Regions from separate parts of the Homo sapiens genome. Here regions 1 and 2 are each linked to region 3. The links are contacts of gene promoters, found by promoter capture Hi-C in blood cells and fetal thymus (Javierre and others, 2016). All regions are on one chromosome and are shown on one strand. Each heading gives the region's core, a stretch centred on a gene start or on the middle of the fragment in contact. The rest is flanking DNA. Distances are from core to core; before and after follow the strand shown.

What was found. The method cuts DNA at HindIII sites, captures the fragments that hold promoters and counts their contacts. A CHiCAGO score of 5 or more calls a contact.
Region 1: a contact is called between a fragment that was not itself captured here and the fragment with the promoter of CLDND1 in region 3, in 2 of 17 cell types (total B cells and non-activated CD4 T cells). The highest score is 6.3, in total B cells.
Region 2: the fragment with the promoter of SENP7 here is called in contact with the fragment with the promoter of CLDND1 in region 3 in 1 of 17 cell types (total B cells); the score reaches 5.3 in total B cells.

Annotation. Positions count from the first base shown.
Region 1 is chr3:100,721,518-100,725,168 of GRCh38, reverse strand. The region is part of intron 3 of TFG (trafficking from ER to golgi regulator); the gene reads right to left. Among named protein-coding and RNA genes, the nearest start is that of TFG, 14 kb to the right of the region's middle. The HindIII fragment of the contact is 518 bases long and covers 1,640-2,157 here.
Region 2 is chr3:101,510,890-101,514,941 of GRCh38, reverse strand. SENP7 (SUMO specific peptidase 7) reads left to right here and starts at 1,730. Exons shown (of 24, transcript NM_020654.5): 1 at 1,730-1,851. The coding sequence starts at 1,812. The HindIII fragment of the contact is 4,750 bases long and covers 963-4,052 here.
Region 3 is chr3:98,520,981-98,524,928 of GRCh38, reverse strand. CLDND1 (claudin domain containing 1) reads left to right here and starts at 2,027. Exons shown (of 5, transcript NM_001040181.2): 1 at 2,027-2,080; 2 at 3,487-3,796. The coding sequence starts at 3,505. It overlaps CLDND1-AS1 (CLDND1 antisense RNA 1), which reads right to left and starts at 2,359. Exons shown (of 2, transcript NR_198998.1): 1 at 2,096-2,359. RefSeq lists an enhancer at 449-578 and silencers at 1,781-2,420, 2,471-2,580. The HindIII fragment of the contact is 2,905 bases long and covers 1-2,844 here.

The DNA of each region.
Region 1 (3,651 bases), core at 649-3,148, 2.2 Mb before region 3:
TTTGGGAGGCCGAGGCAGGCAGATCACAAGGTCAGGAGATCGAGACCATCCTGGCTAACACGGTGAAACCCCGTCTCTACTAAAAATACAAAAACAAATTAGCCGGGCGTGGTGGCAGGTGCCTGTAGTCCCAGCTACTCGGGAAGCTGAGATGGGAGAATGGGGTGAGCCCCGGAGGCGGAGCTTGCAGTGAGCTGAGATCGCACCACTGCCCTCCAGCCTGGGCAACAGTGAGAGACTCTGCCTCACAAAAAAGAATTCCCTTTTATTCATAGTTTGCTACGACTTTTCAACATGATTGAGATATGAATGGCTTTTCTTTATCTAGAGATGATCTAGTTTTTCTCCTTTAATCTGTTTTATGGAAAATAGTATGTGATTTTCTAATTTAAAGCAATCTTAGACTCCTTGGGTGAGCAATTTTGACACTGGTGTGTTTAAATATTCACTGATGAGTTTGATTTGTAAATATTACTTAATATTTTCTATCTATGTTCATACGTGACACTGGTTTGCATTTTCCTTGGCTGGTTTTCATGTTAATGTTATATTAACCCCACAAAATGAATTAGTGTATATTCCCTCTTTGCCTATGCTCTTGAATAGTTTGTATAATTTAGAATCATCTGTTCCTTAGATATTTGGTAAAATAGTTGGCCCAATTTCTTTAATGTTAATTGGGGCAACCAATTTTTCTACTTCTTGAAACAGTACATTAAATTTACCTAGGATACTGTCCATGTCACCTGAGTTTTCAAATTTAAATAAAGGAATTCATGGTATATATAAATTTTTAAAGTTTCTACTATAAACTTCATTTCTAACATTGCTTATTTGTGCCTTGTTTCTCCTTAACTAATCCTCATAAAGATTTGCCAACTGCATCTTTTCAAAATTGTTGATCCTAACAATTCCAATTTCTAGTTCACGTCTGCTCTTATTATTTCCTTCCAAGTTATTTGAGGTTTGTCCTTTTGTAACTGTTTGAATACCTTGCTCAAAAATTTCCAATCCAGTTTACTAATATAAAGTATTTAAGGCTGTAAGTACTACTCTAAGTACAGCTTTAGCATTCTCTAAAAACTTGGTTACATAGAAGTCATTATCTACTTATTTATAATTCCCATTATTATTTCTTCTTTGACTTATTTAAAACCATATTTTGTCTCCAAAAGTAGGGAAATTTGGGTTACATATTCTGTCCAATAGTCTCTAAAGAAGCCAGAGAATATGACCTTTAAGATATCTAATTATCTGTTACATTTTGGGATTTTCTGGAAGACTTGACTTACAGTCAACTTCTATAATGCACTATGAGTACTCGAAAAAAAAAAAAACTGTATTTCTCCCTAACTGCTAGATGTACAAGACCAACGCTGTTTGAGCCTGCTTGATTTATCGGCTCTCCCATAATTGTAAATTTATTGATTTCTCTTTGTTCTGTCAATTTTTCTTAGGGGAAAACATCTAAAGCTAACATGCATAAGTGTTCAGATTGCTATATAGTCCTAGTGAATTATTCTTTTTATCATCATAAAGTGACTATTACTACTCAAGTTTTTATATAAGTCTATTCTGTTAATAACCAGCTTTCTTTGCATTTGTCTAGTCTCTTTTCCTAGCCCTTTACTTTCAAGCTTTGCATAATAATCTTTTATGTCTCTTGGAAGTAGCATGGAACTGGATTTTTTTTAAAATTCCATTAAGAGATTATTTTAACCGATATATGTAGTCAATTTCTGTGTACTGTGATTAGTATTCTGTTCTATCTATTGAGCTTTCTACCTCTTTTATTCCGCCACCACTTTCTACTGAACTGAACAGGTACCCTTGTTTTCTTTTTTTCTCCTTTCCTGACAATGTCTAATTTTTCAATTATAACTCTTACATGTACACCATGCATACTTCTGCATATGTAGTATGCAATTAAAAAAATCTAAAGGTAATTACAATGTTCCTCCCAAATAAGTCCTTAAAATATTTTTATTCCTATCATCCCTTCCTTTCTTACATATTATTGCCCAGTATTTTTGTCCCAAATTGTTTTTATTCCCTAAGACTATTAATTTTGTAACAATCAATGCTCATTAAAACGTACACATAAATTTCATTGGTGCTTCCCAATCCCCTGACAGCCCAAGGTTTAAGAGTTAAGCTTCCTTGACTTTTTCTGTATCAATGGAAAAGCTTTTCTAAAATAGTTTTTGAAAGCATAGCCTACTGACCAAGCAACAGTTTATCTGCTCACATTGCTTCTTGCATCTTTCACCACCTTCTGGACTAAATTTCCTTCTTGATGAAGACCACTGTTAAAAATTATTTTAACAAGGGTCCATGAGTGGTAAATTCTCAGTCTTTCAAAGTATTTTTACTTCTCCTCATTCGTGAAATTTAGTGGAGTATAGGATGCTACTTTTCTAGTTATTTTTCTTTACTGTTTGCAACTGTGATAATACTGTCTTTTAGCCTCTATTATTACTATGAAGAAGTCTACTAACAGTCTAATTGTTTCATATGTGATCAGTCTTATTCTCTCTGGCTACTTTTAAGGTAATCTCTCTGTCTTAAGACATTTTCCAGTTTCATGACAATATGTCCAGTGGGGATTTACTTTTACTTATCCCTGCTCAAGGCTCCCCGTGCCTTCTGAATCTGAGGGTCTATAGCTTTTATATAACTCTGAAAATTTCTTTAGTCATTACCTCAATGTATTTCCACTCTCCCATTCTCTCCTTCTTGAAACTCTGAATAGAAATATTCTGGATGTTCTCATTTTCAACTTCTCTTTTGCCTGTGTTTTTGTGCTTTACTCTGTAATTTCTTTGGATTTCCTTTTCAGTTCACTAATTCTCTTTTTAGCTATGACTAATGTGTTTAACCTATCCACTTAGTATTTAATTTCAATGATTATATTTCTCATTTCCAAGTTACTTTAAGTTCTTTATAAAATCTGTTTATTGTTTTTCCATAATACAATAGCATCTTGCTCTTATGTTCTCGTTTTGTTTTGTTTTTTCTGAGATGGAGTCTCACTCTGTCACCCAGGCTGGAGTGCAGTGGCGCGATCTCGACTCACTGCAACCTCCACCTCCCAGGTTCAAGCAATTCTCCTGCCTCAGCCTCTCAAGTAGCTGGGACTACAGGCACACACCACTACAGCTGGCTAATTTTTTGCATTTCAGTAGAGATAGGGTTTTACCGTGTTGCTCAGGCTGGTCGCGAACTCCTGCACTCAGGCAATCCGCCCGCCTTGGCCTCCCAAAGTGCTGGAATTACAGGCGTGAGCCACCACGGCCGGCTGCTTTTATATTCTTATTCCTTCTTCTATGTCTTAAATAACTTTTAATTTTGTAGACTATCACATATCTTAACTGAAGTTGTTGAAAATCTAATCCTGCTATTAGTTGTGTCCAGTGGTTCTTGCTTACCTGACAGCTTCATGTGTCTTACGGTTTTGTCTGTGAGAAACCTATGTGACCTGGATTGAGAATATACCCCTCAAGAGAGATTTTGGCCTTTCTTCTGAGATTTTTCTAAAATGGTAACATCTGGGCTTGGGAGTTACCAAACTACATGGATAGTTTAAATTTAAACCCAACTCACCTAAGGACCACAATTATGAATCCTGAAGGGAGACTTCCCAAGCCCCTG
Region 2 (4,052 bases), core at 481-2,980, 3.0 Mb before region 3:
TAGCATCTGGCCTGTATATTTTTGTGGAGAGGGGGGTCTTGCTTTGTTGCCCAGGATGGTCTGGAATGTCTTGGCTCAATCTATTCTGCCTCGGCCTCCCAAAGTGCTGGGATTACAGACGCGAGCCACTGTGTCCGGCCCAGCTTGACTTTAGAATCAGTTAAGTTCTTTAGTTAAAAAAGTTAATTTGGGCCAGGCGCAGTGGCTCACGCCTGTAATCCCAGCACTCTGGGAGGCTGAGGCGGGCGGATCACGAGGTCAGGAGATCGAGACCATGCTGGCTAACATGGTGAAACCCCATCTCTACTAAAAAATACAAAAAATTAGCCGGGCGTGGTGGCGGGCGCCTGTAGTCTCAGCTACTCGGGAGGCTGAGGCAGGAGAATGGCGTGAACCCAGGAGGTGAAGCTTGCAGCGAGCCGAGATTGTGCCACTGCACTCCAGCCTGGGCGACAGAGCGAGACTCCGTCTCAAAAAAAAAAAAAAGTTAATTTGTGAGGAAACTGAAAATTCAATTATTTTTCAGAAAGCAATGTTTTTGTTAAACAGAAATTAACCAAATAAAACGAAATCCTTACAGTAAACTTCAATCCCAGCAAGACTTAAAGTATTTCTGCTTTGCAGTCATTCCTGCCATGTAGAACACTTCCCCAGGCCCAACACCCCACAACACCTGGGGCCTTACCTCTACCTGGGGACTGACCACATTATAATTAAGAAGGCTTAACTCACGATGAAGGGGACTGCTCTAGTGGACGAGTTGGGCCGATCCCTTTATTGACTCCGTTAGGATGGGAGATGGGGGTTGGAGGGATAGGCGTTAGGGGTATAAAGGGGCCAGCTTGGGAATCAAACCCTACTTCCAGAGTCCCTTCGGGCTTTGAACATGCCAGAAACATTTTCCCTGCTTAGAGCACTGTGCTGAATTTTGTTAAACTTGTGATTAAATCGTCATGAAAGCTTACACGTGCATTTAAAAATTATTCAGATATGCACCATTAGGGATAATCAGGCTAATAGTACCAGACCTTGAGTTCATTGAGGACTGGATTAGTCCCTTAAGTATCGTGGTAAATGTTAATTGAACAAATTCCAAGTTTATAGCCACCCACTTTCTGTCATATCAGCATTTCAGTTATTGAAAAATTAAGTTCTAGCTTTTCTTTTAAGGAACTTTAAAAATCACAAGTTCGAATTTTAAAAAGGAATCCTAAGACATTTTTCCTCGTCTGCTGACATATTTCCACAGCAAATGCTAAACTAATAGCTAGGCTATTATTAGGTGATTTTGCCATCTTAAAATCTTTTGGTTTCTGAGTTCGAGGAAAGGCGTTGGGGGCAAATATGTAAGAGAGGCTGTGAGGGATGTAATACTGCAAACGCTAACGTTTTGTTTTCATAGTTGTTTGGCCACCTCGCGAGATCCAGTGAACCGGAGGAGTTCCTGTTTTTCCCTTTTAATTTTTGTCAATCTAATCTTCAAAGTCAACAAAGCTAAAATCGAGCACCCAGGTGGTTCACCTCCCCAGAGGGGCTCAGATCATGAAATAAACGCCACCAAAAAAACGCTGGAAGAGGCAGCCCACAGTGAAAAGTCCCAGGAAGTGATTTCCGGTCGAAGGTGGGAGGGGCGGCTGATTTCCGGTCGAAGGGCAGGCGACGGCTCTTGCGCAAGCGCGCTTCGCACTTTGCGGGCTTTTTTTTTTTTTTTTTTTTTTTTTTTTTTTTCCTTTCCCCTCCCCCTCCCTCTCCAAGCCGGAGGGGTCCTGAGGTGACAGCGCCTGCAACTGAAATTTCAGCAGCGGGAGAAGATGGACAAGAGAAAGCTCGGGCGACGGCCATCTTCATCCGGTGAGAAAGGGTCAGAGAAGGGCTGAACATATTGTCTCCTACCCGGGGGAAACGGGAGGCGCAGGCGGCAGCTGGGGTTGCGGCCCGAAGCCGCGGGGGCGAGGGCGGGGGCGGGGAGAGGAAGGGGCGCGCACAATGGAAGGCTCCCGGGTCGCCCCCGCCCCTGGAGTCGAAGACCCGGTCCGAGCTGTCATCGAAGCCTCGGGCGCTCTTCACCTCAAAACCCCTTTTATTTTTTCCCTCCTCCCGCGAACACCCTCCTTGCGTCTCATCGGCCCATGGATCTTCCCGGTTGGCTTGTCACTCTCTGCCACGCCTTCCTCGTAATTCCACCAATGTTCCAATTTCATTTCGGCTTCTCAGCGCCTGACCCCACTTTCCTCTCTTCCTTTGATTCTCGACTTTGCGTCCCTTCCCCTCTCCCTCCTCTTTCCCTCAGCAGGTAGCTGCTGCTGGGGAGGAAAGGTGGGGCTTGCGACCGGAGACTCCTTTTCTTTGATACAATGCCTCTCCGGGTCTCGTTCTGCTGAACAGGCCCGCCTAATAGCCTTTTTCTTTTCCAGCCTACCCTGCGTCTTCCAAAAGTGATTGGAAAGTCAAACAAAGGATTTGAAGCCGTGCTTTCGTTGTGTTTTTATTTTCAGCATATTTTTTGTTTTGGACGTTACTTTGTTTTAAATGACTATCTTCAGTTTTGTGTACAACGTCTTGGAAACAAGAAAGTGGAGTTATAAAAACGTGAGGTAGAGCTCCTCCCAGTTGAGAAGTTTTTATCAAACATTTCATCCATTAGGGGGTCCTCAAGTCCTTGTGTTAAGTCCTATGGATGGTAGGAGGAGAGGACGAGGACTCATATGCTTACAGTCCAGTACACAAACGAACGCCCAATGAATCAATTATTTCATTTCATTTTTCTGTTTCTGATGGTACCGTTGGTTTCTGCAGAGACAGTTAACAATTACAGATTTATTGGCCGGGCGCGGTGGCTCACGCCTGTAATGCCAACACCTTGGGAGGCCGAGGCGGTCGGATCACAAAGTCAGGAGATCGAGACCATCCTGGCTAACATTGTGAAACCCCGTCTCTACTAAAAAATGCAAAAAATTAGCCGGGCGTGGTGGCGGGCGCCTGTAGTCCCAGCTACTCAGGAGGCTGAGGCAGGAGAATGGCGTGAACCCGGGAGGCGGAGCTTGCAGTGAGCCGAGATCGCACCACTGCACTCCAGCCTGGGCAACAGAGCGAGACTCTGTATCAAACAACAACAACAACAAAAAAAAAACAAAAAAAACCAATTCCAAATTTATTTAGGAGTGCCCTGTGGCAGTGCATCTCAAACTGCTTTCAGCCTTAATTGCAAAGGAGAGTGATTATGGATCTCTGGGGACACTGCTTGAAGCAGTTGAAAACCTGAAATCCCTTTTCATATGCAACCAATGTTATCGATGTTCTTGGTGTATATTCTGGAGATAATAGTTTTTTCCTTTGAAAGCACATGTATAAATGATATATATGTATATTTATACATACATGTAGGTATATGCCTCCAACTGATGAGTGTTTTAATAGTCTCCACCCCCCACCAAACCTCTAAGTAAAATGGACACATTAGGAAAACGCACAATGCTTAGCTGGTGTCATTTGCGGGCTTCCTAACACAGAACTTTAGGTGTGATCATATCTTCCTTTGAGATGCACAACCTTTTTTAAATAAATGCATTTCATCTAGGTTTAATACATTTTTGAGGAGGGAAGGTAAGATATTTGCCTTGTAATTCAACAAGTCACGTTCCTTTTTACCTGATTACACTTAGATTTATTTATTTGTCACAGTAACTTGATGTAAGTAGTTGTGGGAAGTGGATTTTGATAATAAAGCTGTTAATCCTTAAAAGACATTGATATTTACGTTAGTTATATCTCTAGAGAGCGTTTTCTTTTTCTCGTGATCTCTCTTTTGGAGCTGTCCTTTCTGAAAAGTAAGGTATAATAAAATCCATACCCAAATCTAATGTTACCTAGCTGTTCTCCAGTATGCCTCTAGTTTTAAGATGTGCACTAATTAATTTTTAAGTATGCTTCTGCTTTTCTTAATAGCGTATATTTAATTTCCTGAATAAATTCTCAGAAATAAAACATTGGCTGGTTGAAAGATTCCGTGTAGTGGTTGTAGGCATGCAGTTGCCATTTCATTGTAAGTTGTT
Region 3 (3,948 bases), core at 778-3,277:
AACCTCAGGTCCTGTGCTGGGCGTTTTATATGTTTTTCTCAATCTTCACAATGATCATGTGGGATAGATGCTACTGTCAACATCCATATTTTGGAGAAAAGACAACCGAGACTTAAAGAAGGTTAATTCTCCAAAGTCACAAAATGAGTATATTCAAGTGTGTTACCATGGTAGTCAGTTACTCTAATATCCAAGTTTGCTACCAAGTCAGTTACTCTCTCTAGTTCCTTTATCTGTAGACTGAAGTTGTTTCTTCTCTCTCCTTTAAACTTCTCTTTTGCCTGGTTTACTGACCACATGATCTCAGTGGAGAGGTAAATCTGAAAGTGGGGAATTTCTTTTTTTGAGGCAGAGTCTTGTTCTGTCGCCCAGGCTGGAGTGCAGTGGCGTGATCTTGGCTCACTGCAAGCTCCGCCTCCCGGGTTCATGCCATTCTCCTGCCTCAGCCTCCCAAGTAGCTGGGACCACAAGCGCCTACCAACACGCCTGGCTAATTTTTTTGTATTTTTAGTAGAGACGGGGTTTCACCGTGTTAGCCAGGATGGTCTCGATCTCCCGACCTCGTGATCTGCCGCCTCGGCCTCCCAAAGTGCTGGGATTACAGGCGTGAGCCACCATGCCCGGCGGAAAATAGGGGATTTCTAATGAAGGCCAATGGATGAAGACATTTCCTGGAGTATAAGGGCATTTATGTGTCTTACTACACATTGACAATTTGCCTGTGCCTCTCCATCACTTTCTCTAGTTGGTGCCTCTGACAAATTTTTTTTTGATTATATGCTGTATATGAAAATCCAGAGTCATGTTTGAATATATTTGGCTACTACCTTATTATGTGCTGCATATGAATATCAGTTTCACCCACTCAGGTCAAAGAAATGTAAGTACAGATAGAGAAACATATCATGCCTTTAATCTGTCAAAGTGGTAGAAATTTAATATCAACTTGCAGCTCCCATCTTTCTCCTATGCTAAATTACAAGGCATTAGGGGACAGAGTGGGGGTTTGAGAGCCCCTCTGGTCCTTGAGTCAGCTTTCTCTGTCGGTTACTGTTGAGAAATCCACCATTTGCTGGTCCCAGGCCACGTTAATAGTTCCACTCATGTTATTGTTAAGATGTCCCTGCTTCCTGTCCATGAATTTCTGTGTTAAACCTGAGGGTTCAGAATCATTGTTGCCCCTGTGCCACACATCATCTGCAATCTCCAATGCTGTCCATGACCTTATCTGCTTGAGTGATGTTCCCCAAATTTCAGTCTTTTTCCTACTATACCCACAATTTTTTATTCATTTTTTGACATATCTGGTATCCTCAGTATTATTAACTTAATAGTTTTTAAAATAAGTGAAAAGAATTTAAAAGGAACAACATTGCTGCAATAGAAAACTAGTATCACTTGTCATAAAAAGAAGGCAGCTACAAACACATTTTATGAAACCCAAATAATATCATTACATTCTTGATGGATACTGTCTGCCAGGTCACATACTTCTTAGCCTAAACTTATGCAATAAAACCAGAAGGATGCTCTGCTCCAATGGGAGGGATTCTGGGAGAGGGAAATAAAATGGGTCAACGTTTCACAAGTAGAATCCCATTTTTGTTCATTTATACTTAGATCTAGAGGCAGGGTGGTGTGATAGGGAAAGCACAGGCCTAAAAGTCAGATCTAAGTTATACAAGTCACGGTCATTGACTCGAGATGACCGGAAACAGGCCCGCTTTACTTTCTGGACCATTCTCCCTTCCTCCCTAAAATGCAAGAATCCAACAGCCTAGACTTCCCTTCTGCGTACCGGCTTGCCCTGAGGAGCTGAACTACATCTCCCACAATGCGCCGCGCGCGGCGCCAGGAATGCCTATCGCCGCCTCAGACAGCTTTCAGTCTGTCCCTCCTACAACTCCCACAAGGCCCCTCGGCCCCGGGCCGCGGCCCGGCCCGGAGTGGGGGCGGGCGGAGGCGCGGGAGTTATGGAGGGGGCGGGCTCTGCAGGGAAGTGCGTCAGAGGAGGCGCGGGGAGAGTAGGGTGCTGTGGTCTGAGCTAGAGGGTGAAGCTGGCGGAGCAGGAGGATGGGCGGTGAGTGAGCGGGACCTGCGTCGCCGGGCAGGGGTCGCGTCGCGGTTCCATGTTCCCGGCGGTTTGAAGAGGGGCCCCCTTCCCGGGCGTGGTCGGGCTGGGCGGGTTCCGAGCGGCGGATTTGTCCCAGGGCCGAGCCCTCTAGGGCGGGGCCTGGTCGGGTACCGGGGGACCCTGGCCCGGGGCCGAGCACGGCTGCCCCGCCCCAGCCCTGGCCTTCTCCGGCCCCGCCGTGAGGCCCAGGAGGTGGCTGCTGCAGGCGTCCGGCTTGGACGAACCGCCGTTCCCAGTGCTGGGACCCTTTAAGGTCATTTGAGAGCACCAGGATGAAGGGGGGATTTTTAAAAAATCAAAATACAAATCCAACTTTTTGAGTTTTCGTTGTCATTGCTCTTATCTTTCCTGAGTCACTTCCCATTTTCCAAACTCAGCAACCCCAGTTTGCGAGTCTGTTTTCATGAACCTTTGTAAGGTGTTTGGTGCGGTCACGGTGTATACTTGCCGTGTAGTATTTGACTCAGCGCGATCTGCCTTGAGTCATTTTACCGCGGCCATTTACTACTGCCGTTGAGCCCTGTCCACGCCTTGGGAGTGTTGATATGTTGAGAGTTTTCTGTCTGGCTGAGGAGGGATCATTTAGTTTTTGCGGACGTATGTTGCACTGAGGATTTAGGGAGAGAGCAAGATTTCTGTTGAGGAGGTTCAGAAGTATAAGGAATCGGGAGAGTAGATAGGAGTGAAGCATTTGGCAGCGTAAAGAAGCTTGGCTTAGCTTTAATGGATTAGGGAGAGATTGCTATCTAGCATTATTACATGTTATTGTTCTCTTTGCTATTTTATACACCTAGAACAACCTTTCCCTCGGGGTTAACAAACATCTTCAACTCTGTTTTCTGTATGGCTCCTGACTCTTACCTTTGTTTTAGGAGGCTTCCCTCTTCAGAGGAAACTGGGAGAAGCCAATTTCCACTGCTTCTTTTTCCTGTGCCTTTTTAACACTCAAACCCAGAACACTTAATCCTCTGCAGCTCGTGCAAAAATTCAGTCTGTAATTTAAAATGTGTGCACGGTACACTGCTGACCATGGGCATGTCTATTGTTTGTATCTGTAATGTGTATGTCCATTTCAGTGTTGTCTGTTTTAGTATGCAGGTGATAGACTAGAGAACAAGACCTCTGTCTCCGTAGCATCCTGGGTATGTGAGCATTCAATAAGTACTTTTATGAGAATGAGTTTTGTTTTAAGCTTAATTAAAAACATGCTTGCTTTCTAAAAAAAATTCTTAATGGTTATATGTACGAAGGGATGGGGAATTGGGTAAAGGGTGCATTTGGAATAATTCAAAATAATCTTTCTTATTTGTCCGTAAACTCTAACTTATCTTCTTTCTTCAACTTCTAAACAGAGCAGTCTGAATGCCAGAATGGATAACCGTTTTGCTACAGCATTTGTAATTGCTTGTGTGCTTAGCCTCATTTCCACCATCTACATGGCAGCCTCCATTGGCACAGACTTCTGGTATGAATATCGAAGTCCAGTTCAAGAAAATTCCAGTGATTTGAATAAAAGCATCTGGGATGAATTCATTAGTGATGAGGCAGATGAAAAGACTTATAATGATGCACTTTTTCGATACAATGGCACAGTGGGATTGTGGAGACGGTGTATCACCATACCCAAAAACATGCATTGGTATAGCCCACCAGAAAGGACAGGTATTTCTCTTATTTTAACTTCTGTCTTCTTCACCTGGTTAATAATAGACAAAACGACGTAATGATTGCCCAATTACATGTAAGCAGGTTTGTTGGTTCTCTCTCTCCTTAAAGAAATAAATCGTGTATCTTCTCTTTCTACTGCCTTCTCT